Regions from separate parts of the Homo sapiens genome. Here regions 2, 3, 4, 5, 6 and 7 are each linked to region 1. Evidence: promoter capture Hi-C in 16 types of primary human blood cells and fetal thymus (Javierre and others, 2016). All regions are on one chromosome and are shown on one strand. Each heading gives the region's core, a stretch centred on a gene start or on the middle of the fragment in contact. The rest is flanking DNA. Distances are from core to core; before and after follow the strand shown. Region 1 holds the start of METTL9 (methyltransferase 9, His-X-His N1(pi)-histidine). Region 2 overlaps UBFD1 (ubiquitin family domain containing 1). Region 3 overlaps COG7 (component of oligomeric golgi complex 7). Region 4 has its middle 4.3 kb from the start of USP31. Region 5 overlaps USP31 (ubiquitin specific peptidase 31). Region 6 overlaps USP31 (ubiquitin specific peptidase 31). Region 7 overlaps USP31 (ubiquitin specific peptidase 31).

The links. Contacts are between HindIII fragments. The CHiCAGO score rates a contact against its expected background, and 5 or more counts as called.
Region 2: a fragment that was not itself captured here is called in contact with the fragment with the promoter of METTL9 in region 1 in 1 of 17 cell types (neutrophils); the score reaches 5.3 in neutrophils.
Region 3: a contact is called between a fragment that was not itself captured here and the fragment with the promoter of METTL9 in region 1, in 2 of 17 cell types (neutrophils and erythroblasts). The highest score is 5.2, in neutrophils.
Region 4: a contact is called between a fragment that was not itself captured here and the fragment with the promoter of METTL9 in region 1, in 2 of 17 cell types (fetal thymus and non-activated CD4 T cells). The highest score is 5.8, in fetal thymus.
Region 5: a fragment that was not itself captured here is called in contact with the fragment with the promoter of METTL9 in region 1 in 1 of 17 cell types (total CD4 T cells); the score reaches 5.9 in total CD4 T cells.
Region 6: a fragment that was not itself captured here is called in contact with the fragment with the promoter of METTL9 in region 1 in 2 of 17 cell types (total CD4 T cells and naive B cells); the score reaches 6.2 in total CD4 T cells.
Region 7: a fragment that was not itself captured here is called in contact with the fragment with the promoter of METTL9 in region 1 in 4 of 17 cell types (naive B cells, naive CD4 T cells, total CD4 T cells and 1 more); the score reaches 11.6 in naive B cells.

What each region holds. Positions count from the first base shown.
Region 1 is chr16:21,597,924-21,601,974 of GRCh38, forward strand. It overlaps METTL9 (methyltransferase 9, His-X-His N1(pi)-histidine), which reads left to right and starts at 1,654. Exons shown (of 5, transcript NM_016025.5): 1 at 1,654-1,975. The coding sequence starts at 1,811. It overlaps LOC101927814 (a long non-coding RNA gene), which reads right to left and starts at 1,462. Exons shown (of 3, transcript NR_110930.1): 1 at 733-1,462. RefSeq lists a silencer at 1,641-2,260 and an enhancer at 2,369-2,933. The HindIII fragment of the contact is 7,148 bases long and covers 1-4,051 here.
Region 2 is chr16:23,558,753-23,562,803 of GRCh38, forward strand. It overlaps UBFD1 (ubiquitin family domain containing 1), which reads left to right. Exons shown (of 7, transcript NM_019116.3): 3 at 716-924; 4 at 3,454-3,519; 5 at 3,873-3,978. Among named protein-coding and RNA genes, the nearest start is that of UBFD1, 3.1 kb to the left of the region's middle. The HindIII fragment of the contact is 3,053 bases long and covers 292-3,344 here.
Region 3 is chr16:23,441,736-23,445,786 of GRCh38, forward strand. COG7 (component of oligomeric golgi complex 7) reads right to left here. Exons shown (of 17, transcript NM_153603.4): 3 at 3,313-3,429; 4 at 742-910. Among named protein-coding and RNA genes, the nearest start is that of COG7, 9.4 kb to the right of the region's middle. The HindIII fragment of the contact is 7,262 bases long and covers 1-4,051 here.
Region 4 is chr16:23,151,775-23,155,825 of GRCh38, forward strand. No RefSeq gene overlaps it. Among named protein-coding and RNA genes, the nearest start is that of USP31, 4.3 kb to the left of the region's middle. The HindIII fragment of the contact is 3,636 bases long and covers 85-3,720 here.
Region 5 is chr16:23,124,881-23,128,931 of GRCh38, forward strand. The region is part of intron 1 of USP31 (ubiquitin specific peptidase 31); the gene reads right to left. Among named protein-coding and RNA genes, the nearest start is that of USP31, 23 kb to the right of the region's middle. The HindIII fragment of the contact is 3,160 bases long and covers 503-3,662 here.
Region 6 is chr16:23,090,015-23,094,065 of GRCh38, forward strand. It overlaps USP31 (ubiquitin specific peptidase 31), which reads right to left. Exons shown (of 16, transcript NM_020718.4): 7 at 610-790. Among named protein-coding and RNA genes, the nearest start is that of USP31, 57 kb to the right of the region's middle. RefSeq lists an enhancer at 3,582-4,051. The HindIII fragment of the contact is 465 bases long and covers 1,805-2,269 here.
Region 7 is chr16:23,058,675-23,062,725 of GRCh38, forward strand. It overlaps USP31 (ubiquitin specific peptidase 31), which reads right to left. Exons shown (of 16, transcript NM_020718.4): 16 at 2,732-4,051. Among named protein-coding and RNA genes, the nearest start is that of USP31, 89 kb to the right of the region's middle. The HindIII fragment of the contact is 4,022 bases long and covers 301-4,051 here.

The DNA.
Region 1 (4,051 bases), core at 404-2,903:
GGAAAGAGAGAACACAAAATACCGAACCCCACCCACCCTGTGCCTTTTTGTTTGTTGTTACAGCCTGTTACATTAGGCAACAAGATATCCTTGTTAGCCAAAGGTGCCAAGCTGAGATTCTTAAAAGCTAATGAAAGAGCTGTTGGGCCAGGTGCGGTGGCTCACGCCTGTAATCCCAGCACTTTGGGAGGCCGAGGCAGGCGGATCACGAGGTCAAGAGATGGAGACCATCCTGGCCAACATGGTGAAATCCCGTCTCTACGAAAAACACAAAAATTAGCTGGGCATGGTGGCGCGCACCCGTAGTCCCAGCTGCTCGGGAGGCTGAGGCAGAAGAATTGCTTGAACCCGGGAGGCGGAGTTTGAAGTGAGCCGAGATCGAGCCACTGCACTCCAGCCTGGAGACAGAGCGAGACTCCACTCCGTTTCAAAAAAAAAAAAAAAAAAAAGCTGTTGGGTAAGGAATGATTTTGTTCCCCATCTGTGGCTCACCACCCCACTGTTTCATAAATGAAAATCTCTGATGTGCAACGCTGAATTAACCAAAAGGCTTACTTCTTTTGTTTTGAACTTAGACACATTTACATTATTTCTGGTGCAGTTAAATTAAAAGCACTTTCCAAACAAACCTAGGAAAGTATTAAAGTTAGGGACTCCCACGAAATGTTACTCCTTAATTGTGGCTTGGATAATAGCAGGAAGAACTGCAGACAGGAACACAGTGTAACTAACCCTTCAGTTCTGAAATGTTGCTAGGTCTCCTCGTGTTATAAATGATCAAATAAATATCCGGGTTAAACACTGCTCCCAGAGCTGAGTTCACTCTTAAGAGTGTTGGGTCCAACTTCCCTGTGCTAATTCAAGGAAACAAGGCAGCCAAGGAGTCTAACTTGAGGTCTTCATTCTTGGGCAGGGCCATCAATACATCTAAAACATTACTTGTGGGTACCCCAGCTGCGGTAGCTTCCCCAAAAGGCAGAATTTTCACTCATTCTTTATAGAAACACGTAGCCAGCAACTTCTCAGGCTTGGGGAACGGGGCAGGCGGGTCGTGGTGGTGGGGAGAGTAGAGGAGGGAGTCTGGCAGGTCGGTTCTAAATGTAAACTGGAAACTACGCATCCGAGCGGGCAACCATCACTGGCACCATTCGTCTCCGGGAAGAACCTGTGTGTGTCAGGATGCACGAAAGGAATGACTCCCCTCTTTGCGCCCCCGGGGTTAACTGCACGACCCTGTCAAAGTCCCGCCGTGGAGTGGGATGAGGGTCGAGAGGTAACCCTGTCAAAGTCCCGCCGTGGAGTGGGATGAGGCGAGGAAAGACTGGAGGTCCTTCCAGCACCACCTTGGAGGGGCAGGGAGGCTGCAGTTACCGCCTTCGGAAGTGATCTCCTCAGCCCTCAAAAAAATTAAAACCACCTCCGCCATTTACTAGAGGCCAAGGCAGGGCCGGGACACGAGAACGCGCTCCGGGCGGATGCGCGCTCCCTTTGTCCCGCCTCCCAGCGGCCCGCTCATTGGACGGAGGGAGGGCGCCGGGGGAGAAAGCGACGCGGCCGCTCGTAAGTGCTCCGGATGGAAACTGGTGCAGGGGGCAGCGGCGTTCCGCGGCCGGAAGGGAAGGGGGAGGTGCCGAGGCTGCGCGCCGGCTGCTCCTCCCCACCCCCAGCCTTTGCCCTGAAGGGGGCTGGATGGGCAAGGCGGCCGCGATGGCTCGAGCTCGGGCGGTGGCGGCGGTGGCCGGAGGCGGCGGTGCCTCCTCCTCCTCGCCCCGGCGCCGGCGGTGATCCGAGCGAGCGGCCGCGGCCCCCGATGAGACTGCTGGCGGGCTGGCTGTGCCTGAGCCTGGCGTCCGTGTGGCTGGCGCGGAGGATGTGGACGCTGCGGAGCCCGCTCACCCGCTCCCTGTACGTGAACATGACTAGCGGCCCGGGTGGGCCGGCGGCGGCCGCGGGCGGCAGGAAGGAGAACCACCAGGTACGGGCTGGGGCCGGGGCCGGGGCGGGGGCGTGGCGGCCCGGCCTTCCCGCGCTGGGCCCGGCTATTGTGCGGGACGGCTCCGCGAGGGGGCGGCCCGGCCCTCGCCCCTCCGCCTCGGCCCCTTGGAAAGTTTTCCCCGCGCCTTCCCCGCCGGGCGTCGACTCCGCGAGCCCCGGGCACCCGGCCGCGGCCCCGCGAGCGCCTTTTGTTCCGCAGCGCAGGCGGGGCATGGCCTCCCGGGCCCGATCGTGAGCGGCCCGGAGCCCCGCATTGTTCCTGGGTCCCGGGCGGTGACTGCGGACGCCCGGCAGCGGGACTGGGGAACTTTGGGGCCAGAGCGTGGCTGGGGGCGCCCGCCTGGCACCGAGGCCTGAGACTGAAGAGACCCGGCCAGATCCATTACCCCGAGAAACAAAACGAAAAGCCAGCCCCTCTTGTTGTCTCGTTGAATCCCAGAACGTACAAAGGGTCGTGAAGAAATGTAACTGTACATCGCAAGCCATTGAACTCTCCAGGCTGATTGGGGTGACATTTCTCCCTAAGCACTTAAAAAATGGGTTTGACAGGTTGTCGCTCCCATCCTACGGAACCTTCCCCTCCTACCTAGCAGAGATCTCCTTTAAACTTGGATTTAGTCAGCCTGCTAGAAAGATTGTGTGTGATGAGGAGGAAGATTATGCAAGTTTTACAGGAAGGGTTTTTAAAACAGAACGGGACGGGAGGGAGTTTTAGTTATGCATCGTGAGCGTTACGCTGTGACCGGGTAGGTAGGCTTTTCATTAGCTCAGTCTTGCGCCACTTAAACGTGTACAGGTTAACTGTAGAATTAAGTGAGATATTTCGTATATGACCTTAACATAGTTTGCAGTTAATGTTAAATTCATTGAAAAGAGGCTTTTGAACTCTGCCAGAGTGTTGGCTTGTCATAGCTAGCATTTATAATACATTTTGCTTTTCCATAGAGTATTAATTATTCCCTATATCATCTTGTGTCTCATCATTTTCATATATTTCTCATTTTCCTACATTACTTTTTTATTATGCCAGGTGTTCAGAGAATTTACACCCAGGTTGATTTCATGTGTTTTAATGAGGGTAGAGAATTGTCTAAGAAGGAGATAGAGCAATTTAGAAAAGTAGCATTTAGTCTTTAGTAATATGTATATTGGGCTTTTTTCTATTGTTAAAGGAATCCTAAATTTCTGTAAATTTTTTTGAAAGCCTCCAGCCATTGCAGTTTGTTAGGTGCAATATCAGTATCATTGATCACTTGTATGATATGGTTAGGAATGTATGTAAACTTAAATTGCAAAACCACATTTATTCCTATGGATTATTTGCTTACACTAGTTCATTCTTATAGAGACAACTCAAAGGTACTGTACCGTTGACTGTACAGTTACCAGAATGTCACATATGGAACAATGGGGTAGACAATGAATTAGAAATGTCATTTTTAACATTTTTAAGCAGTTGATAGAAATAAGGTCCTGGATAGGAGAAAAAGCGATTTATCTCCATTGATGGGGGATTATGGTTGAGTCTCTTAGCTATTGGTATTTATAACACTTATCATGATTACCCCTACTGCAGCCACTTGGTAGGTTTTTAGTGCTCATAAAAGAATTGCACTTATTTTAAAATTGAAACACTATTTCAACACTGTGATGTGTATGGAGGCGGAATTGCAGCTGTAGACATAGCCTCAGAATATCTCCCAGCAGAGGATACTTTCTGACTGTACCTTTTAAAAGCTGAATCTGTTAAGTTCTAATGAAAACTAATACTGGTTTCAGATACGTTTATTTCAGATACCGTATTTATATTCTGTGTGTGTGTGTGTGTGTGTGTGTGTGTGTGTACCCCTTCACTAACAATTCAGCAGATAATTTCTTTAGGGTGAAGACTTAATATGGTGTTTTCTGAATATTTGGGGGATGGGTCAACTCTTTTCCTTAGAATAATGAATCCAGACATTATTTTGACATGAATACATTCATATTATGAAAATAATCGTGCATGAATAAAGATTAAAAGGAACAGAAGAAAGGTGTGTAGAAACCACCATGAGAT
Region 2 (4,051 bases), core at 568-3,067, 2.0 Mb after region 1:
TTGCCATCTGAGATTTCTTTTCTTTTTCCTATTTTTTTTTTTTTTTGAGACGGAGTCTTGCTCTGTTGCCCAGGCTGGAGTGTACTGGCACCATCTTGGCTCACTGCAGCCTCCGCCTCCCAGGTTCAAGCGATTCTCCTGCCTCAGCCTCCCGAGTAGCTGGGATTACAGGTGCCCGCTACCCCGCCGGGCTAGTTTTTTTTATTTTATCCACCCACCTCGGCCTCCCGAAGTGCTGGGATTACAGGCATAAGCCATCACTCCTGGCCTTGAACTTTTTTTTTTTTTTAAAGCTTTCTACATGTAGCCTTGTAATCTCCATTAAGAACAGGAGTTTTGTCCCTATTGGCTTCTGTAGCTCTGATGCCTGTGGATTCTCACTTAATATGTGAATGATTTAGATGACTGAGGAACAACTTGGAAAGAATGAGAGCTAGTACTTACTGAACAATTATTCAATGCTAGCCACCGTACTAAATGCCCCGCATTGGTCTCTTAATCCTTGAAACAGGTCTGTACAGAAGGACTTACTCTAATAAATCTTCTACAGTTCTAGAAACTGAGGTTCAGAGGTTGTAAATCTCCCAAGTTCACAAAGCTAATAGGTGGTGGAGGCAGTATTCACTTTTTGGTCTGTTACCAAAGAGCTGTGTAGTATCCATACATTTTTCTGTCCTTCCTTCCTTTCACTGTCCACCTTCTACCTTTTCCCAAGGTCTCCCGCCTGCCATGCAGAAAGTCATGTATAAGGGACTCGTCCCCGAGGATAAAACATTGAGAGAAATAAAAGTGACCAGTGGGGCCAAGATCATGGTGGTTGGCTCCACCATCAATGATGTTTTAGCAGTAAACACACCCAAAGATGCTGCGCAGCAGGATGCAAAGGCCGAAGAGAACAAGAAGGAGCCTCTCTGCAGGCAGAAAGTGAGTCCATCTTGTGCTTCTTGGTCTTGAGAAATTTGAGGCTTTGTCCTCTTGAGCCGTGGCTGGTTATATTCTCCCTAGAATAAGCTCCTTTTTGGACAGGGCCCATGATGGAAATTTATGGCAGCAGTTGGGTGCCGCAGAGTGGAGGTGACAACTACCTGAGATTTGCAACTTTGTCTCATCTGGCGGGTCAGTGTGTCTCAAGTCTACCTACTTTAGGATAAGACCTTGGTAAAGGGAGGCTTCAGACCATGTGTTGAAAGGAATCAGACGTGGGTTTCTCTCTCTTATTTAGTGCCAGAGAAAACTACCAGTACTAGAAGTAAGCCCTCATTTTGTACAAGTGCTTACATTTGGCTTTTTGGTTTGTGGCTTTCCCCAAGTCAACAAGCCTGGCTAGGCATGGAAATCAACAACTCTCGGAGGTTCCCCTAAAGCTGACCGTTTCAGGAAGCTAAATGAAGCTGAGTAGGAAGACAACTACACTGATGGATTTGTTTATTTATTTTTTTGTCCTGATCTGTGAAATAGGAGCTTGGTTTTTTACGTTCTCTGTTCTTTTGGCTGCAAGAGATCCTGCCTTGTCTTGTGCTCATCATAGCCATTAACATTCTTTCACGTAACGAGGAAAAGTGAGATTATTTTACTATGGAAGGAACAGGTTGTAAGAATCATTACTTGTTATCTTTTTACCTGGCAAATTATACTGATTGCTGTGTAGCCTCCTGATCGTTCTTCCTAGTGTTCCAAGGAAGACAGGTATTCTCAACTGTGTCTGAAGTAGAGTAGATAAACTTCAATCAACATCATTTAGTGACCATAGACACTAAGATATATGACCAACAGTAAGAAAAGGACACAGTTTGTGTTACAGATCCATAATCCCCCATGTGTGCTTCCAAAACCCCAAAGGAGTATAAAAACGAGAAGTGTTTTTATAAATTTAACAGCAAAACCTGACCAGAATTAGTGTGAATTTTCCTCTTTGGTGACAAGGTACTGCCCCAGACCCCACAGAGAAGATTGTTATGTATTTGAAAGCAATATTATCTTTATAAAAATTCCAAAACCCTGAAAGTTCAAAACTCTAGGGTTTCAGATAAGGGGTTATAAACCTATATTAATTATCTAAAAGGTGTTGATTTGGAGACTTCACCCCCACATATGGGGTCTCAGTGTCTTGAAACCGATTGAGTTTCTTCTCATATTCCTGTTTTTCTTTGCCACATGTATGAAATAGTGAAATGTGAGCACGTCAGATAGGAGTGGTCGCAATGGTCACACCCTTGGAGCATAACATGCCTCCTAAATACAGGTTTTTAGTTACTAATGGTAGCTTAACAGGCTTAGAACTGTTCTCCACAGTACAGGAAATCTTGTTCAAAAGGTACTTGAAAGGTGTGACTCGAATTGTACTTCCAGCCCATGCTGCTGTGTTTCATTGAGGCCAATTATGATGCATCACATGACCTAATGAGAGGGATATAGTCCCTTGCCTTTTTACCAGCTTATTAAGGGGTCTGGGGGTGATGTCTGGAGTGACTTTTTGCTAGCAGTCTGGCAGTGCTGAGTTTATTCCTCCCAGAGGGATTCCACCATGCCAGTGAGGATTTGGGCTGGCTTGTGGCTGCCTAGTGCTTACATTTGATTAAATTGTTACCTTCTATCCATTCATTGTCCCCTAGTTCCAGCCTTCCAAGCAGTGGCTATGCCTATAAGGCCACAGATGGAGAAGAAAGAAGACTCAGGCATTTGGGCCAGGCAGGAGAACTGTTTAAGGGGCCCTGAACTTAGAATCCTTGAAGAGCTGCCTCAGAGTTCTTGGGGCAGGTGGTAGGGGTGGAGTTTAGAGGCTTCTTAATGTCAGGTTATAGAGTAATAAGCATTTCTTTCTGAAAGGTGGCTCTTCCAGGTTCCTGTTTAGCTGGAGTTAAGGGTAGGGCAGTGGGGAAAACTTCGGCGATGGGCTGGGTCTCCATTTGTTGAAGAACTGCTCCTCCTAGGCAGTTAGACGGATTACCAGCATCTTATAGTGTTCTCTGGAAGTTTAAGTTGAAAAAGGTGGGTGCCATTTTTTGTCTGCTAGGAGAGCAACACCCTTTGTCGCCCTCTTTAGTTTGATGGTTTAATCATTTCAGTGGTGATTTTTTTTTTTTTTTTTGAGGGGAGGAGGGCAATCTGGAAATCCCGTTTGCTGTAGAACTTTGATATCTAATATGGTAGCTATCCACATGTGGCTGGTTAAAATGAAATTAAGAATTCAGTTCCTCAGTCATAGTAGCTGCATTTCAAGTGTGTAATAGTCACAGCAGTAGGTAGTGGCTAGCACAGGTACGAACATATTCGCCCTCCCAGAAAGTTCTGCTGGACAGCACTGTGCTATAGTTTCAAAGGATCCATAGTCTGTCGTCATTAAAAGCTTTTGAGCCAAAACACTAAGGCTTTCTTCATCCTCTCTTTCAAGGGAATAGTAACACGACGAAATGTAGTCAGCTGTTTCATTTCATTCTCTCTTCTGACTTATAGCAACACAGGAAAGTGTTGGATAAAGGAAAACCTGAAGATGTGATGCCATCTGTTAAGGGGGCCCAGGTAAGGCGGATTTCTTTGTGAGCATTCTGAAAATGAGGCAGCCCCACCGTCTGACTTGAGGTTCCTCCAATCCTGTCCCTTCTCTTTTTTCCCTGTTTTTTTTTTTTTGAGACAGAGTCTTGCTCTGTCACCCAGGCTGGGGTGTGCCACCACACCTGGCTAATTTTTGTATTTTTAGTAGAGACGGGGTTTTACCATGTTGCCCAGGCTAGTCTCCAACTCCTGACCTCAGGTGATCTGACCGCTTTGGCCTCCCAGTGTGCTGGGATTACAGGCGTGAGCCACCGCGCTTGGCCCCCTTCTCTTTTTTTCTGACTGTCCCTCCATCTCTTACCATTCTCTCGTGCCTTCAGGAGCGCCTGCCAACGGTACCGCTGTCCGGCATGTACAATAAATCTGGAGGAAAAGTGAGACTCACCTTTAAACTAGAACAAGACCAGCTGTGGATTGGCACTAAAGGTATGTTCTTCCTCGCCTCCTTGCTGGCCCACTGCCTGCCTCTGGCACCCAGCAGCACTCACATTTTAGAGTG
Region 3 (4,051 bases), core at 1,552-4,051, 1.8 Mb after region 1:
ATAACTATTCAGGGAAAAGAAACAAGCTACATACAAAAAAAAAATAATAGGAAGAAGCAGCAGGCCAATCTCATACTTATCAGAATATAGAGGGAAATGCATTCGCACTAGAAGACAGAATTCACAGAAGTAGCATTTCACCTTTTGCCTTTACAGAAGTATATTTGGCTGTTTTGTGAGACATTCTGCGGGAAAAGAAAAATAAATATAGATGGCAGAAGACAATGAAGAATTCTGAAGGAGAAAGTGTGTGACCCAAGAATTCCAAAAGCAGTTATTGCTTTCTACACATAAAAGCAATAGAAAGACACTCCTGGCCGGGCGCGGTGGCTCATGTCTGTTAATCCCAGCACTTTGGGAGGCCGAGGCGAGGGGATCACCTGAGGTCAGGAGTTTGAGACCAGCCCGGCCAACATGGTGAAAGCCCGTTTCTATTCAAAATACAAAAATTACCTGGGTGTGGTGGCACACGCCTGTAATCCCAGCTACTCGGGAGGCTGAGGCAGGAGAATCACTTGAACCCAGGAGGTGGAGGTTGCAGTAAGCCAAGATTGCGCCACTACACTCCAGCCTCGGTGACAGAGAAAGACTCCGTCTCAAAAAAAAAAAAAAAAAAAATTACAGAGTTCCTTCTAATCTATGTAATTCAATCACCATTAAGACATTCTAAAAACTGAAGACTTACAAGGCCTTATCTTTATAGAGAGATATACACAGAGATGAGAAGCAGCTAGCACTCACCTACAGCCTGAGAGGTGAATGCCGCTACAATCTGTGGACTGGCTAGGGCCTCCAGCCTGTTCTTCAGTGCCTCCAAGTGCACACACTTTTCTGAGTAGTCTGGTGTATCAACAAGCATCATTAAGCTGTTCTGCATACCTGTTAGCTTGGCAGAAATCACAGCTATGTCCTAGAAAAGACCAGAATAGAGAATATTTATTTTAAATGATCCCTACTGCCTCAATTGGGAATAGATAAAATACATGAAAAGGCAACTCATCAAGTATGAAAATGGGGCTGGGCATCGTGGTGGTTCATGCCTGTAATCCCAGCACTTTCGGAGATTGAGGCAGGAGGATCCCTTGAAGCCAGGAGTTCAAGACCAGCCTGGTTAACATGGCAAGATCCAGTCTCTACAAACAGTAAAAATTAGCTGAGTGTGGTCATGCGCACCTGTAGTCCCAGCTACCCAGGAAGCTAAGGCAGGAGGATCACTTGAGCCTGGAAGGTGGAGACTGCAGTTAGCCAAGATCACACCACTGCACTCCAGCCTGGGCAACAGAGAAAGACCCCGTCTCAAAAAAAAAACAAAAAACCTGTACTCAAATAAATGCAAATTAAATTAAAACAATAAAGTGTCATTTTCCTCCTAACAAATTGGAAAAGTGTTTGAAAAATTATAATAGCTATTGTTGGTGAGGGTACAAAGAAAAAAGACAATCTGGTATCATAAATTTAAATTTATACTGTCTTTCTGGAAGGCAATTTAGCAATATGTGCTAAGAGTTTTAAAAATATTCACATCCAGGCTGGGCACAATGGCTTATACCTATAAATCTCAGCATTTTCAGAGGCTGAGGCAGGAGGATTGCATGAGGCCAGGAGTTCAAGACCAGCCTGACCAATATAGCAAGACCTTGTCTTTACAAAACATTTTAAGAAATTGGTCAGGCAGCCGGGAAGGGTGGCTCACGCCCCTGTAATCCCAGCACTTTGGGAGGCCAAGGCTGAAGGATCACCTGAGGTCAGGAGTTTGCAACCAGCCTGGCCAACATGGTGAAACCATCTCTACTAAAAATACAAAAATTAGCCAGGCATGGTGGCGTCCACCTGTAATCCCAGCTACTCGGGAGGCTGAGGCAGGAGAATCGCTTGAACCCAGGAGGCAGAGGTTTGCAGTGAGCCGAGATCATGCCACTGGACTCCGGCCTGGGCAACAGAGCAAGACTCTGTCTCAATAAATAAATAAATAAAAGATAGATTGTTGAGTGAAAAAATAAAGTGAAAAGCAGTGTTCACAATGAGCTTTGTGAGGAAAAAAAGGGGCAGGGAACATAAATATGTATGTGCATATCTGGAAGGATGGGCATAAAGTTGATAACAGGGCTTGTCCGCACAAGAAAAATTAGCCCCCGGCCGGGCATGGTGACTCACGCCTGTAATCCCTGCACTTTGGGAGGCCGAGGAGGGCAGATCACCTGAGGTCAGTAGTTCAAGACCAGCCTGGCCAACATGGTGAAATCCCATCTCTACTAAAAATACAAAAATTAGCCGGGTATGGTAGTGCGCGCCTATAATCCCAGGTACTCGGGAGGCTGAGACAGGATAATCACTTGAACCCAGGAAGTGGAGGTATCATGCCACTGTACTCCAGCCTGGGCTTCAGAATGAGACTCCGTTTCAAAAGAAAAAAAAAAAAAGAAAAATTAGAGGACTAAGGTGGGGGTCAGGGTTAGGAAAAAAACTTATTTTTTGCAGTTTATTCCTGTGTAATAAATTTGTTCCCATGTGCATTTGTAACTTTTTAAAAAAACTGACTGATAAATCATTCATTTTGCTTTACAATTGAGTAAGAGTTCTTCATAAGACATCATCTTACTTCATCCTTACATCCCAGGTGGAAAATGTTACTATTTTCCACACTTTGCAGCCTCAGAAGGGGTCAATAACCCACCAAGTCCCCAAGGTATATAAGGCTCCCCTTTCCCCATGTTCCACCCTCTCGTCCATTTACCCCCAACCTTCTCTGCCTGTGCTGGTTTTTCTTTTCTTCTTCTTTTTTTTTTTTTTTTTGAGACAGGGTCTTGCTCTGTCCCTCAGCATAGTGGTATGATCATAGTTTACTGTAGCCTTCAACTCCTGGGCTCAAGAGATCCTCCCACCTCAGCCTCCTGAGTAGCTGGAACTACAAATGTGCAGCACCACACCTGGCTAATTTTTTAATTTTTTTGTAGAGACGGGGGTCTCATTATTTTGCCCAGGCTGGTCTCAAACTCCTGGCCTCAAGTGATCCTCCCACCTCAGCATCCCAAAGAGCTGGGATTTCAGGTATGAGCCACAGTGCCTGGTGCCTGTACATCTTTATCAAGGCTTCTCTTGAACTCATTCTGTGACTAAGAGGCTTCAGTCACACAGAGGGTGCAAGCTAAAGAGGCTGGAAACACACCGAGCAGCTTCAGATCTTCCCCACCCTGAGTCTGAAGGTTTCTGAATGCTGCTATTGGCTATCAACTTTGTATCTCTTTTGCTTTCTCCAAACCTCAAGTTCTTGCTTAAATACCTTTCATAACATCCCCTAAACAAGAAACCTACCTGAGTCTTAAATGTCTCCTCAATATCGGCGCTCAACGTGCTCCACTTATCTGCTTCCTGAAGAGATTCGGCAGCAAGTTGCATTCTGGACTTCACTTGGTCAATTTCTACCAACACCTGAAAGAGGCGTGAGGGGTGAAAAATGAAGGGGTAGGTCCTTTTTCTCCATCTGCCACCAGGGACTTGAAATGTAAGTATGGTGGCTTGCTTCTGTCTTTAGGGAGCTTCTGTCTCCCAAAACACCAATCATCTGGCTAAATTTATTCAGCAGTGCTGAAGAGATGAACCAGCTGAAAGACCCAAGCAAAAGCATAGTTTCGGGGAGCCAGGCACAGTGGCTCACGCCTGTAATCCCAGCACTTTGGGAGGCCAAGATGGGAGGATCACTTGAGACCAGGAGTTCCAGACCAGCCTGGGCAACATGGTGAAACCCTGTCTCTACTAAAAATACAAAAATCAGCCGGGCATGGTGTTGCACGTCTGTGATCCCAGCTACTCAGAAGGCTGAGGCACGAGAATCGCTTGAACCTGGGAGGTGGAGGTTGCCATGAGCTGAGATCACGCCACTGTACTGCAGCCTGCACTCCAGCTACAGAGCGACACTCTGTCTCAAAAAAAAAAGAGCATAGCTGGAGTGCTGGGCAGAATCTTGAGTGATGGTTGGCCTCCCAAAACACCGTGCTGTTCTAAAGCCCTTACGAGAGTGACCACCTTCCCAAAGCAAGAATCACCATTTACA
Region 4 (4,051 bases), core at 653-3,152, 1.6 Mb after region 1:
CACCGCGCCCGGCCTCTAAACAATATCTGAACTTCTTGGTGGGATACCTAAGAACTGCCTTCCCAGTCTGGGCCCCTCTCACTAAGCTTACAGGTCTTATAGGTCTCCACTGAGCCTCAAAGTTTGACACAGGCTTGAAAAAATTCCTCATTGGAATGTTCAGATGATCATTCTTAAAGACTCACCTTGAACATTCTGTAGTGAATCTTTCATTGTCCCTCTCTGTACCACCCCTTACCCCTAAGCTCGGGAAACGTAAATTAGAAACAACAGTGCAGTGAATATTATCATGACCTATACCTTGTCCATCATGTAGCTATCTCCTTAGGCTGAAACCTTGGATCAAAGGGTATGCGTATTCCATATATGACACCTATTGTCAAGCTGACCCCCAGAAAGGTTTTATCCTGTCAGCAACTAATGGGAAATGCACATTTCCCAATCCCAACATACTGTTGAGTTTTCCAGTCTTTTTCACATTGACAAGTTTGATGAACAAAAGATGGCATATTAATGCACTTTTTGTTTGTATGAGTAAGGTTGAACATCATGTGCCAGTCTCTCTGCTATCCAACATCTCAACCAACTTCCTGTCTGCAAGGGATACCAAATTAGGCAGGACCACTCAAGATCCCACTATGAAAACTGGGTAGGGTGGCAGGGAGCAGGTATTCCCCTTCCTACCCCTGGAAGCTAGAGCCCAGGAACATGACCTAAAAAAGACCACCGCCGGGTGCAGTGGCTCATGCCTGTAATCTCAGCACAGGCAGACAGAGACGGGAAGAGTTTGAGACCAGGCTGGGCAACATCACGAGATCCCGTCTCTAAAAAAATAAATAAATAAGCCTGGTGTGGTGGTGCACTTCTGTAGTCCCAGCTACTCAGGAGGCTGAGGCGGAAGGATTACTTGAGCCTAGGAGGTGGAGGCTGCAATGAGCTATGATCGTGCCACTGCCCTCCAGCCTGGGTGACAGAGCAAGACCAACTATATGTTCCTACCTAGACTTTGGCTCTAGAAGTATTGATACACGGTTCGTTGGAGATAATGCAGTGAATTAATGAATCTAGCAGCTATATATTTAGCAGTGTGGCAGTACGGTGGTGTACAGTGTGGGGGTGGTAGCAGCAAGTGTCCAGCTGCTACTCTAGTGGCAAGTTCTTACTGGTGTCTGTGTCCCTGGGTTTCTGCCCAAGCCTGTTTCTCTGGCTCTGTTCTTTCTGTGAGCTAACCTGATAGGTTTCCTGTAAATCCTTTATTGGGGAAACAAACCAGTGTCAGTTTCTGCTGTTTGCAATCAAGAAAACAACTAGGAATACCTTTTAATTAGCGATTTTATTTTTACTGGTGTGATTCACCTGCACACACCATTTGCCCATTATTCTTTTCGGTGTATTCCTTTATAGATATTATCTCGTAGAAGTTTTTTGTTTGTTTGTTTTGTTTTTGAGATGGAGTCTCACTCCATCGCCCAGGCTAGAGTGCAGTGACATGATCTCAGCTCACTGCAACCTCTGCCTCTTGGGTTCAGGCCATTGTCGTGCCTCAGCCTCCCAAGTAGCTGGGATTACAGGCATGTACCACCACGCCCAGCTGATTTTGTACTATTATTATTATTATTATTATTATTTTGAGACAGAGTCTTGCTCTGTCGCCAGGCTGGAGTGCAGTGGCACGATCTCAGCTCACTGCAACCTCTGCCTCCCGGGTTCAAGCGACTCTCCTGCCTCAGCCTCCCAAGTAGCTGGGACTACAGGCACGCACCACCACACCCAGCTAATTTTTGTATTTTTAGTAGAGACGGGGTTTCACCATGTTGGCCAGGATAGTCTCGATCTCTTAACCTCGTGATCCGCCCGCCTCGGCCTCCCAAAGTGCTGGATTACAGTCGTGAGACACTGCGCCCAGCCAAATTTTTGTATTTTTAATAGAGACAGGGTTTCACCATGTTGGCCAGGCTGGTCTTGAGCTCATGACCTCAAATGATCCGTCTGCCTTGGCCTCCCAAAGTGCTGGGATTACAGGCATGAGCCACTACACCTGGTCCATAAAATTATTTTCTATATAAATTATATTATTTTTCAGTCTATACCATTCCCTACTTCCCTTTCAACCATGTTTACAGTGTTTTCATATCATATACAGAACTTAAATTATTATTTTTATTTTATTATTATTTTTGAGACAGGGTCTCACTCCATCATCCAGACTGGAGTGCAGTGGTGTGATCATGGCTCACTGCAGCCTTGACTTCCCGGGCTCAAGCGATCCTCCCACCTCAGCCTCCTCAGTAGCTGGGATTACAGGTGCATGCCACCACGCCCAGCTAACTTTTTGTATTTTTAGCAGAGACAGGGTTTCATCACGTTATCTAGGCTGGTCGCAAACTCCTAGGGTCAAGCCATCCACCCACCCAAGCCATCCACCCGCCTCAGCCTCCCAAAGTGCTAGGATTACAGGTGTAAGCCACTAAGCCCAGCCTAAATTATTTTATATAGTGAAACAGATTAGTCTTTTTCATAAAGATTTACAATATTTTTGACATACTTAGCCTTCCCCCACTCCAAGATCATAAGAATATTCATCTGTATTTTAATTTAGTGCAGTTCTGGGTTTTTTTCTTATTATTATGCTCTCCATCTGGAATTTATTTTTGCATGAGAAATGAGATAGGGATCTTGCCTTTTCTGCATGCTTCATGGCTAGCCAATTGTCTCAGCACCATTTTTAAATGTAATTTTCCCACTACTTTAAAATGCTGCTTTTATCACCTATTAAATGCCCCGTATATTTAAGATTTTTAAAAATTCTGTTCTATCCCATTGATAAGCCTCTGTATTCCAGGATAGCATAGGTTTAGAATATGCTGAAATGTTTGATAGAGCATTATCTCCTAGTATTTTATTATCTGTCTGTTTGCTTATTCTCTCAAATGAATTTAATCCTTTAGGGGGGTTAATTTATATAGATTAAGTGAGGGAAAACTGGCATCACCACAATATTTATCTTCTCATCTGAGAATAAAGTCTGTCTTCAAAAAATTATACAAGGGCTTTTAATGCCCCTCCCAGTACTATAGTTTCCTCCCATAGGTCTTGCATAATACTAATAAGTTTATTCCTATTGGTTGCTATTATGAATGGGATATTTTATGTCATTATATTTTCTGTTGTTTGTCTACAGGAAAAAAAATATTTTTGTAACCAGCCACCTTGATGTACTTTAGTTCTTTCTCATAATTTTCAGTTGATCCTATTGGGTTTCTCAGGAATTTATATCAACACATGAGATAAAAACCTCGCCACTTTGTTTATAATAGTTGTACCTCATCTTTTTTTTTCTCTTGTCTAATTGCCCTTCCAGAATTTTGTCTGTAATAGTAAGGAGAGTAGGAAAGCCTGCATTGTTTCTGCCTTTAATAGCATTTCATCCAGTGCTTTACCATTAAGCATGCTTGCTTTTGGTTTGAGATATATATTATTTATTGCGTTAAAGTGGTATCCATGTATTCCTACTTCAGGAAGGGTTATTATCAGGAATTGGTCTTGAATTTTATCAAATGCCTTCTGGGCATCAACAGAGATGAGCCTTTGCATTTTTCTCCTTTGACCTGTATACCCATCGTAAGTTCTTAGTTGCAGACAACATAAATGACTTTTGCTAACTTAAGCAGAAAAGGAGATCTTTAGAAGGATATCAACAGCTCACATAACTGCTAGAAAAGCTTCAGAATCAGACTTAGGAAACCAAGGAAGACAGTACATAGCCAGGACTCTGCTCCAGAAAATGCTGCTTAAGATGTCACTGTTGGCGCCGTCGGTGAAGCTGGCGCCACCTTCAGACAGTGGTAGCCGCACCACTTGCCTCTTAGTTCTGCTGTAGCCACTGTGTAACCTTGAATAACTTCCAAATGTCTCTGAACTTTTGCTTTCCTATCTGATAGAGTTTAGATATTTTTCCCCTCCAAATCTTATGTTGAAATGTGATCCCTGGCTGGGTGCAGTGGCAGACACCTGTAATCCCAACACTTTGGAGGCCAAAGGCGGGAAGATT
Region 5 (4,051 bases), core at 833-3,332, 1.5 Mb after region 1:
TCTGTCTCACAAAAATAAGAAAATAAAAAAAACCCTAGAGTATCTACGCATCAAAGGCAAGCTATAAAACAATCAGACTTGCAAAGCTAGACCCAGTGAAAGTGTAGAGGTGGAACGTACTTCTCATCAGCACTTAACTATGGTGATATTTTGCAAGATCCTTTCCACACCTCTCTCCTACCAGCATCCCTTTCTTATGTCCCAGACCTGCTGTCACAGGCTGGGTTGGTTGGTGTGTTGGTTGGTTGTTCTTGCTAAAATGTTTTCACCACTCAGGTGTAAAGGAGTCAATGGTTGTTAAACACCACGATCTGTGAGGATGGTATTACTATGTGGCAATGAAAAGGAAAATATGGAAACTGAGGCTCAGTGACCTGCCCAAGATCTCAGCTGCACTAGGAGTCTCACTACATTCAAAACTCATAGGCTCACAGATTTTCAAAAGGAAAAGAGTAGCCTCTGACCCTGGATGCCCTCCACCTCCCTCAGCAATACCCTCTGAAGCTTGACAGAATCCGGGAAGGGGTGGGGGCAGCTACAACAGCTTAACCAGCTGCCTGACATCACAATAGAGCCTGAAGGGTAACTAACCCCTTCCTCCAGCTGGATATAAAATAAAAAGCAGCCAATACTCCTTTCTTTCCCATCTGAAGGGAAATGAAGCTACTCTCCTTTCTTCCTGTCACTATTAAAATTGTGAAATCATTAACTAGTAGATATTTTCCACGAGCTGTTGCTTTTAAAGGAGTTTGTCCTTTTCCTTAGCTACCCTAGTTTATTATAACTTTCATGACACAAAGACTCTAAAATGAGGAAGATTTACCAAGTTGTCACTGTACTGTTATAAAGGAACTCTTATTTTTAGAAGATTAAAGAACTTTCCAACTTAATGTATCTGTGTAATTACTGGGAGCAACTCTGGTCAGGGAATAAGTTCTTACTATTATTCTTCTCCAGCTACAGAGAGCCATAACCTTCAAATAAAGAAAGCGTTGAATTTCCTTCTCTAGAGTTTGGAAACAGCCTTTCTCTGCTCCCATCATTGCTCAAAGTAAAGTAAATAGAGAAGTTAATTCCCTGCTCATTCATTTGCTCATGAATATGCACACAAGGGTCACGACTAGTTACTATGGGGGTTAAAGGGAATCATAGCAGCCATACACAGTGCCTCATGCCTATAATCTCAGCACTTTGGGAGGCCGAGACGTGAGGATCACTTGAGGCCAGGAATTCAAGACCAGCCTAGGCAATATACCAAGAATCTGTCTCTACAAGAAAAAAAAAAAGTTTTAATTAGCTGAGAGTGGTGGCAGGCACCTGTTGTCCCAGCTACCACAGAGGCTGAGGTGGGAGGATTGCTTGAGCCCAAGTTTGAGGCTGCAGTAAGCTGTGATCGCACCACTGAACTCTAACCTGGGTACAGAGCGACCCTGTCTCTTTAAAAAAAAAAAAAAAAAAAAAAGGCTGGGCGTAGTGGCTCACGCCTGTAATCCCAGCACTTTGGGAGGCTGAGGCGGGTGGATCACAAGGTCAGGAGATGGAGACCATCCTGGCTAACATGGTGAAACCTCGTCTCTACTTAAAAAAAAAAAAAAAATTAGCTGGGCATGGTGGCGGGCGCCTATAATCCCAGCTACTTGGGAGGCTGAGGCAGGAGAATGGTGTGAACCCGGGAGGTGGGGCTTGCAGTGAACCAAGATCACACCACCGCACTCCAGCCTGGGCAACAGAGCAAGACTCTGTCTCAAAAAAAAAAAAAAGAAATAAAAAAGGGACTCAGAGAAGTAAAGGTCTACACAGAAATACCTCTGTCTCCAACTATAAAACAGAAATTGTAACACATGCATCTACCTTACAACATTATAAGGAGCAAATAAAATAATCCACTGTGCAGGGCATGTGATAAGCACTCATACGTTAGCGACACGAAGAAAAGCAAGAGGAGAAAATTATCCATAGTGTGCTACCATTTATCTAAATAAGAGAGAACATGAATACACACCCATATATGAATACACACATATATTAATATATACCTATACATACTGCCTTATATTTAAACAATGAAAGAATAAATCATAAAATTTAGGGAGAAAGGCAATAGAGTGGAAGGATCAGAGACAGAGCTAGATTTCTGAATAGATCTTGTTTTGCAGATTTGACTTCAGCCATATATTGTATTTTTTAATATAATTATGATGCAACAAAATCAAATTTAGGATAGGAACCAATCTATCAAAATCAAAAGCAAAAAAAGAAACAAATTGACTAGTGTGGTGGCTCACTCCTGTAATCCCAGCACCTTGGGAGGCCAAGGCAGGATGATTGCTTGAGCCCAGGAGTTCGAGACCAGCCTGGGCAACATAGTGAAACAGTATCTCTACAAAAAATAAAAAACTAGCTGGGCATGGTGGTGAGCACCTGTGGTCCCAGCTACTCCAGGGACTGAGGATCACTTGAGCCTGGGAGGTAGGCTTGCAGTGAGCTATGATCGCATCACTGAACTCCACCCTGGGCGACAGAGCAATATTCTATCTCAAAGAAAAAAAAGAAAACCTCATTTTAAAAAAGATTAAAAAAGAAACAACTGATTTTTTTTTGAGATGGAGTCTCACTCTGTCGTCCAGGCTGGAGTGTAGTGGCACGATCTCAGCTCACTGCAACCTCTGCCGCCTGGGTTCAAGTGATTCTCCTGCCTCAGCCTCCCAAGTAGCTGGGATTACAGGCACCTACCTACCACTGCGCCTGGCTAATTTTTGTAGTTTTTTTTTTTTTTTTTTGTAGAGACGGGGTTTCACCATCTTGGCCAGGCTGGTCTTGAACTCCTGACCTCGTGATCCACCCGCCTCGGCCTCCCAAAGTGCTGGGATTACAGGCGTGAGCCAACGCGCCTGGCCGAAACAACTAATATTAACTATATATCCAGTGATGACAAAACCACATAGAGAACTATTCCAAGTAACTTTAAAACACAGTAATTTGTACCATACGGTCCTAGTAGAATATATGCTATGGACAAAAAAACTACCAAATAAGTCTTAAGCCATTTTCAAATACTAACATTGTTGGTGGCAGTACTGGGATTATTATTCTGAGACTTAGGAGCATACTGTGGGATAAGGCAAATGAGAATTTACGCTGGTGTTACAAGTAGGATTTTCAGCATGGGAGGAACAAGCCACAGATACAAGACCAATGAGGGTCAATAAAACCCCGAAGCCCTGTATTGGAATAATCAATGTGAATTCATGATTTAGCTTTAAAAGAAATCACTCCTTTCTTAGAAACCATGTGCATCCCTCATGCCTCAACTGTGGTCTCTCAGTACCGCTGTACCAAAGGAACCTGATTCCAGTATCTGGAAATGACTAATTCCAGATCTGGTGCAAGAAATGATGAGCCTGGAACATCTTAAGATCCTTGCATTCTCGTTTGACATGCCAGGCTACTAGTACAGTCTCAAAACGACTTGAGAGTCGACTTGTCCCACTGGACAAAAATGGGACAATTTTGAGCATCAATAAGGTTAAAAACTATAACTGACTGAATACATCAAATATGCTTAAACCCATGAGCTCATAAGGTTATAAAAATTCACTAAACACAACTGGAAATCAAGTAATTATTTTGAAAACTGAAAAATAAAGGAGGGGGAAAAATCAAGCTTTTATCTAGCCTTTCTTCTGAAAAATTTACTTCAGGGAAACCAAATAACTGGACAAGAGTCTCTGTAGAAGTGTTCCAGCTAACAAGTAAAAAAGGAATGTTAGAATTATAATTTCACCACTTTCAACCCTTAATAAATTAACGGGTCAGGGAACAACTACCAGTGATTCTTGGCACCACAAGAGATAAAACCAAACAGTGCAGGCTTTCTGATGGAAGTTTATAACACCACGACAGAAAGTTTTGCCAAAAAGAGGAGAAAAAAACCTCAAACTTGAGTCTCTAAACCTCTAGCTCTAACTACCATTTTACAGGAAATACATGGACAGAGGAACATCTTAATTGAAGCTACTGGAATATAATACAAAAAATCAAGACTATGAAG
Region 6 (4,051 bases), core at 787-3,286, 1.5 Mb after region 1:
GAAAGTAGCTGGAAATGGGTCTAGAGCCCCAAGAGGAGCCTGAACTGAAAATACACATATGAAATGGGACTTTTAAAACTAGACTCCTGGCCAGATGCAGTGGCTCACGCCTATAATCCCAGCACTTTGGGAGGCCAAGGCGGGCGGATCGTCTGAGGTCAGGAGTTTGAGACCTGCCTGACCAACATGGTGAAACCTCATTTCTACTAAAAATATAAAAAATCCGCTGGGTGTGGTGGCTGGCGCCTATAATCCCAGCTACTCGGAAGGCTGAGCCAAGAGAATCGCTTGAACCTGGGAGGCAGAGGTTGCAGTGAACCGAGATCGCGCAACTACACTCCAGCCTGGGCAACACAGCGAGACTCCATATCAAAAAACAAACAAACAAACAAACAACAACAACAACAACAAAAAACCCCAGATTCCTAATTTTACTCTCCCCCGACCAACCCCCCAAATCAGGTCAACTTGTACATGTATTCTTTCTAAATATCAGAATCAAAAATTAACTACTAAAAGTAAGAACTTTTTGCCCATGCTTTTTAACATGTTTGAAAATACTGAACTGTTACAGTCTAGGTACTTACTGGAAAATAATCTGGTTCTCACCTTTTCCCTTGTTGCCCAGTGCAGGCTCGGTTACACACCAACAGGACAATCTTGTCGCTGCCTGCTCTTGATGTGGGAGAATCCATTTTCCCCTGCTTTGCTGCTGTTTGTGTAGGAGAAGACAGTCTATGATAATCCAAGCCAAATTTCAAGTGGTTTAGGTTGTTGTTTAAATGAATTCCTGAAACAGAATAAAAACAACTCATTTTATCTCTTCAAAATTATTTTTATTCACTCGTTATGAAGAAATTTACCCAACAGAGAAAATTTTTTTTAAAAATGTCATTATGTAAATTAAACTGCAATCAAAAAAAGAAACATCCTACTTAGATTACTCATCTAGCCGTTAGAGAATTTCTTTAGCATCCATTATTATTTCCTTTAAACTAGCCTTACCTATCTTAAAAACTGAAAATTAAAACTGCACTTCAGTGAAGGTTAGATACAGTTTTAGAAGGGCATGTGTGCTGAGATGATTCACCAAGAAAATTTAGTGAGGTCATGCAACCAGTAATCAAACAAATTTTTAAAAAATAAAGATGTGGAATGTTCTTCAATATTCAATAGCAGTTTCTTCTCCCTGATTAAAGAGCCAGACTTATAAGAAATAAAAGGTAAATTACACACTACACCTACTAGACTCAGAGCCATCAGGAGAATCTTCCAACTTGGAATACAGTCTACTAGACTGGATCAATCCACATTAAAGTTAACAAAAATATATATTTGACAGGCACAGTACTGATCCTCCCAAATGCCCCAAAGCAGAGCTCCCTGTCAATCAAAGTACCCAGCAACTCAGCACCCAGCACAACCCCAATAAATGCCTGACTACCTGTTCATTCCTTTAATCCTTTGGAAGCACAGCCTAGGGAAATGACATCCCAGCTGGAAAATAGAAGAAACCCCTCCTGCCACCACCATTAATAATAATACCACCAGAAAGAGAATAAAATACAAATGGCCTACACAAAAGTATTTATAGCAGAATGCTGGCAATAACCTCAATACTCAGCAATCTAAGACTCACTGAACCTATTAAGATACCTCAACATTATAACAATTTAAAATGACAAAGTACATAGTTAATGCCAATATAAATTCCAGATAGAGTTTAAAAAAACAACACATACAAACTAGAAATAAGAAAAAAGCTGAATCTTTGTCAAGCCACTAGAGGGAAGAAAACTTTTTAAGCTTAAACACCATAAAGAAATCACAAAAGGAACAGGAGTAGATCTTACTTCCTAACCATTTTAAACTCTGGTATGAGAAAATAAAAATAATAGATATCTGAAGTTGAGACAATAAACTCGTTTCCCAGGTTCTTGGCAGAGGTAAGGGTGGGAAGATCTGTTCTCCTAGAATAGATGTGGACTCCTGACGAGATAAGGGGATGCCACATTGTCAACTGCACAGAAATCAAGCTCTGTGTTCAAACTGTGGACCCATTTACTGCCAGCTGTGTGAGCTGGGAGTGGTTACTTCATCTCCAAGTCTCAGCTTCCTCACCAGTAATGTGGGGAAAGCAGTAGCCTCATTATATATTGAATAAAACATCTGTTAAGGCCTTAGGATAGAGGCTAACGCAGACTCAATAAGGCAGTCTCTGGCTAGAATACAATAACCTTTGGATTCACCAAATTCACTTATAAATAGAAGCTTAGTGTTAACCCTAAGCAACTGGGGTGGGAACAGGATTTTGAGAAACTTTCAGTTGAACAAACATTACCTGGGCTCTTGCTGCATATTAAGAACTATATTGCACTGCTGGGTATAACAAGATAAAGCAAAATGTGGCCCCAGCTCCAGAGAACTTCACAGTGTGGTGGGAAGGACAGAGAAGAAAACAAATCATTTCCACATAACACGCTGGTGTGAGAGATTAACAGAAGTTAACTGCCCAGAAGAGCAGGAGTTCGCCAGCCAGCCTGCAGGTAAAGGGAGTGAGGAAAGGCTCTCTGGACAAGATAATTTAGGTATTTTTTACTGTAATGCAATAAAACTAGAAACAATCCAAACAAAAACACATACAGGGAAACGTAACAACTGGAAAAGAAACACAAACAAGCACCTGGGTCAAAGAAGAATAAGTGAAATAATAGACTATCTAGAAAATATTGTAAATATGAGTAGACCAGAGAAAACTGAATTGTAAGCTGGCATTGGAGAAAGCTGGCCAACCCAATATACAGGATCACCGAAAGAATCAGAAACTGGAGGTGCCAGAGGCCTCTGGAAGTAGAGGGTAAAGTAAAAGAGGAATTAAAATAAGGACTTTCAACAAGAGCACCAAGACCATTCAATGAGGACAGTACAATCTCTTCATCAAATGGTGCTGGGACAAGTAAATATTTACTTGTCCCAGAATGGAGTTTGGTCCCTACCTCATACAATTTATAAAGGTTAACTTAAAATGTATCAACAACCTAAATGTAAGAGCTAAAACTACAAAACTCAGAAGAAAACACAAGAGTAAATCTTTATGACCTTGGATGTGGTGACGGATTCTTAGATATGACGACAAAATTATGAGCAACAAAAGAAAAAACAGACTTCATCAAAATGAAGAACTTTTGTACGTCAAAGAACACTATCAAGAAAGAGAAAAAACCCAGAGAATGGAATAAAATACTTGCAAGTCATATATCCCATAAGGGTCTAGTATTATACATCCTTACAAAGAATTCTTACAACTCAACAAAAACAACTCAACAAAAAGATAATGCAATTTAAAATGGGAAAAAGGCTTGAATAGACATTTCTCCAAAGAGAATATATAAATGGCCAAACAAGCACATGGCAAGATGTTCATCATCATTTACTATTAGAGAAATGCAAGTCAAAACCTCAATGAAGTAACACTTCACATTCACCAGGATGGCTAAAATCAAAAAGATGAAAAATAAATGTTGGCAAAGATGTGGAGAAATTAGAACTCTCATCTATTGCTGGTGGAAACGTAAAATGATCCAGCTCCTGTGGAAAACAGTTTGGCAATTCCCAAGAAGACAACCATAGAATTATGATATGATCCATCAATTCCATTCCTAGGTACATACCCAAAAGAACTGAAAACAGGTATTCAAACAAATACTTGTACACAAATGCTCATAGTAGGACTATTCATAATAGACAAAAGGTAGGAAAAAAACAAATGCCCATCAATAGATTAGTGGATAAACAAAATGTGGTACATGCATATGTATGTATGGAATACTGTTCGGCCATTAAAAAGGAATGAAGTGGATCCGTTCCAAGATGGCCGAACAGGAACAGCTCTGGTCTGCAGCTCCCAGCATGATCGATGCAGAAGATGGGTGATTTCTGCGTTTCCAACTGAGGTACCTGGTTCATCTCATTGGGACGGTTGGACAGTGGGTACTGCCCACGGAGGGTGAGCTGAAGCAGAGTGGGGTGTCGCCTCACCCGGGAAGCTCAA
Region 7 (4,051 bases), core at 1,062-3,561, 1.5 Mb after region 1:
TTCCAGAGAGTGCAAGCAGTTTCCCCTGCCTGGAAAGTGTGAGTTATGGCCCACTGCCCCCTCCTCTGACCCCAGGAGGGTCGGCCCCTCCTCCTCATCACTATTGTTATCATTACAAATGGCTCCATTCAGCCAGCGCTTTCTCTGTGCCAGGCACTGTGCTGAAGGCTTTATAGGCATCATTCCCATCTAACTCTCACCACTCTATGATGCAAGTACCAGTATCCTCCATCTTCTGGATAGAAAGACTCAGGCAGATTACTAATTCAGCTAGTATGTATTTACTAAGTAACTGCTATAAGCTTGGCACCCTCTTAGATGCTGAGAAAAAGAGCAGTGAATAGAACAGGCAAACCTCCCCGCTCTCATGTAAGCTCACCCATCAGCTCACATATGACCTATGGTAGTTGTGATAAGTGATATGCAGAAAATAAAATAGGGAGTACGGACAGCGTGTGAAGCAGGTTGCAGTGTTCTAAAAAGGTAGTAAGGGAAGGCCTCAATAAGGTGATATGTGAGTAAAGATGTGGAGGAGATGAGGGAATGAGCCAGGCTGGCATCTCGGAGAAGAGCATTCTAGGGACGATGCCTTGAGAAAGAGCAGGGAATAAGTGGCAAACTTGCTGAAACGTTATCTGTTGGCCAACCTGACCTCCTGACTGGCAGGTGAGCCCCTCCAAGTGTGGTCATAACCCCAGCAGCTGGGCACACAGAAGACATTACTAAATGAAGGAACCTGGACTCCGATTCTGAGTGAAACAGTAAAGGGGCACCTTCCTCACCACAACTTTTGTGGACTTGGAACCCTGAGGCTGGTGCCATTCATCCTCAGTCCCCAGTGCACAATCCCCACACACTGTCCACTCCAGACTCTCGGAGAGGAAAGACGTATTACACCCTTTTCCCTGTGTCTCTGGAACTGGATCTGTGCACTGTGGGCCTCTCTGGAGTCCTCCTAAACAAAGGGAAGGCACAGGGGTGGTGTGCTGGAATGCAAGATCCCTGAGACCCCACCGGGGGCAGGGAGGCCTGATTCCAACTAGGCACTGCAGTCTCATTTGCACCATCTTCTCACGTTTCACAAGAAAAATGGAGCTGTTAAGACATCCAAAGAGCAAGTCAAACTGATATCAAATCCCTGAAAGCTCTAAGAAACGAGTGCAAGGCCATTGGGTTATATGGCATGCAAAAATGCACCACCAAGGGAGAGGACAGCCCTGTCCTCTGTGTATAGCAGGTGTTGGCAGAGGGTGAAAAACGTAGCTAAGACCAGACCAAACCAAGACCGAATTCCAGAGGGGTTTGCAGAAGGTAGACCCAACCCACCCAGCAAGGTGAAATCTACCAGATGACCCTCGTGGAGAAGCCTGAGAAAGGAACAGGGTCGCAGAGAGGAAACCTGAAGCATCCATCTGGGAGAACCCAGGAAGGAGTGAAGAGCAATGGAAAGTGAATGTATTAGTAAATCGAAGTGATTAACCGTTCAACGTTATGTTAGATGATGTACACAGAATTAGAACATATGACACAGAACCCAGCTGGGAGAAAGGGGATACTGGGGTGGGGGAGGACCTCAAGCTACATCCCACGGAGTCAGAGTGGCCTAGAATCACCCACGGGGCAGTTTAACACACAGGAACATGCAGCTCTGGGCAAGGGGTGTTATCACACCTTTGCTTTCTTCAGGAAGATTTACAGGGACCCGAAAAGTATTCAGAGAGACGTTGACCATTCAAGTATTGAAAGATAATCTTCCAAATCCTAAGGAGACAGGCAAAATGATCCTTAAATATCTGCATAACTATTAAATCTACATATTTTATGACATGTGAACACTTTGTGGCATAATGAAGCCTCTTGAATAATCAGCGTACTACATGGTTAAACTCTCTAACAGAACCTAAGCGAAATCTTACCATTTCAAATTAGAGAGCTTCAGAAGTGCTGTACCTAGCACGGCATGTGGTTCACACTTGTCAGGAACATCAACTCCCCCCACCCCAACCCTAAACCATAATGCTGTGCTTTAGGGAAACAAGATCTGTCCTGATCTGTACTCAACACTTTCCGGGAACAAATGATGGCTGGTGGCACTCCCCTAAACAGAAACCCCTGTTCACTGATACCGTATTCCCCAACTCATACTGAATAAACATTTCCACACTCAGAGGCTAACCACCTGCAGGCTGGACTTCTAAAATGCATAAGAGATCTTTAGTGCCCCCACGTGGCCATAGGTGATGTGACATCCTCAGTAGGGAGTTCTGTCCTGAAGGGTGGGAAAGACAGCTGGAAAAATGTTGTTTGTATCAAAAATATTAAATATCTAGGGTATGAGACAGCGCAGGAAGAATGGCCCCTTTTATACTGCTATTTCTTCCCATCATAAAAGTTTGGTAAGAGGGGGAAAATAATGCGAAATGTTGAAAATCTGTTGGATTGAACCAGAATGTGAGTTTTTGTCCAGTTCCATGGCCCAGGACAAACTGTCTCTAATCCGTCATGGAGGAAATGGGAAGAACCATCCCTGATTGTGAAAATTATACAAGCATGGATGTGATTTTTTGTTTTAAACTTTTACACAGAAAACATATGTATACATCTTTCTGTAACTTGTGTTTTAAACACTGCAATTTTAAGGCATTTTGTAAAGACTGATGCAGTACAATTATTATTATAGTCAACACCAAAAAGATATCAGTTGGCAAGGGGGAGAAAGGAGAAATGTGGCTTGAAGAGGACATCTTGTAATAAATTTATTGTATTTTGTTACATTTTCCACTTTTCTCTTAATTCCAACTGTATACTATATAATCAACGCTGTTTCAGAAATAAAACGTTTCAAACGTAAAAATATAAATTCTGCTTCTTAAAAGTGCATACACTTTGAATAATAAAACATACAAATAAATAACAGAAATCAGTGACACATCTCATGCACTTGTTCTAAAATAAATTTAAAATGTACGATACACTTTTCTTCCAGCCTCTAGGAAAGACATCCTGCCTTCCATATTACTGTACAACTGAAAATGAAAACGACACAGAAATCACTATCCACGGTGCATGAGTAATACCAAAGCACTTTGTGTACAGTGATGTGACATGCAGCTTTCAAGACAACTACAGAAATTCCAGTGTAAAAACTGAAGAGTTCAATCAAGAAACGACTTATGTCAATGAGGCTTAAATTCAATTTTAACCAGTGGTGAGAGGCACAGTTGGTGAGCAGACCTCTATGGAATGCAAACACGTATTTGAAAGGCCTACAAAGAGAACTCCAACTTCGGAAATACTGTAACTGCTTTTGCATTTGGTATGACACCACACCGTTTATAATAGCACCTAGGAAATTTCATATTGCATTTGGACGACTGCAACAGATATCATTATTCTGGATGGCCTTTCTAAAGAAACATTTCCAACTTGCATGTCTACTTGTATCTTCATTCCTTAAAATGTTGAAAACACCAGGTAAATTGTGGTGTTTTGTAGGCAGCATGAGGCTCGACAGAATGAAACCATCAGATTACTTCGAAGGTGTTGTAGTGCATTCAGCTCACCACAGATTAAAACTAAATTTTATTTGCCTCCACAGTTAACACAGAGTGCCAAATTCTGGGATGTGTATTACTTAATGGTAAAACAAACAAAAAACAAAACAAAACAAAAACACGAAAAAATAGCAATAAGGGTTTTTTTTTTTTAAAAAAAAGACACCAAAGAAAATGTTTCACATTCATTTTCAAACTAAAAAAAAGAATTCCTGAAACCACATTCTGGATAAGAACTATCCTAGAGAATGAGCAAAAGTAGGAAATTCAGCGGCAGCCTGGGGTTTGCTACTGTAATTCCTACAAAAAGGCAATAATTCTATCAAAAGCAGGGACAGGCTTTCCAAGGCTAGGAAGGTTGTTTCTTTTCTTCTTCGACAATTTCTAGCTCAGAGTGACTTCCCTATTCCCCCACGGGCCTGGGGAAAAGGTTCTGGGGACAGATGCAAACCCCGCGGGGACACTCAGCCTGCTCCAGCAACTAAGACCACCAATTT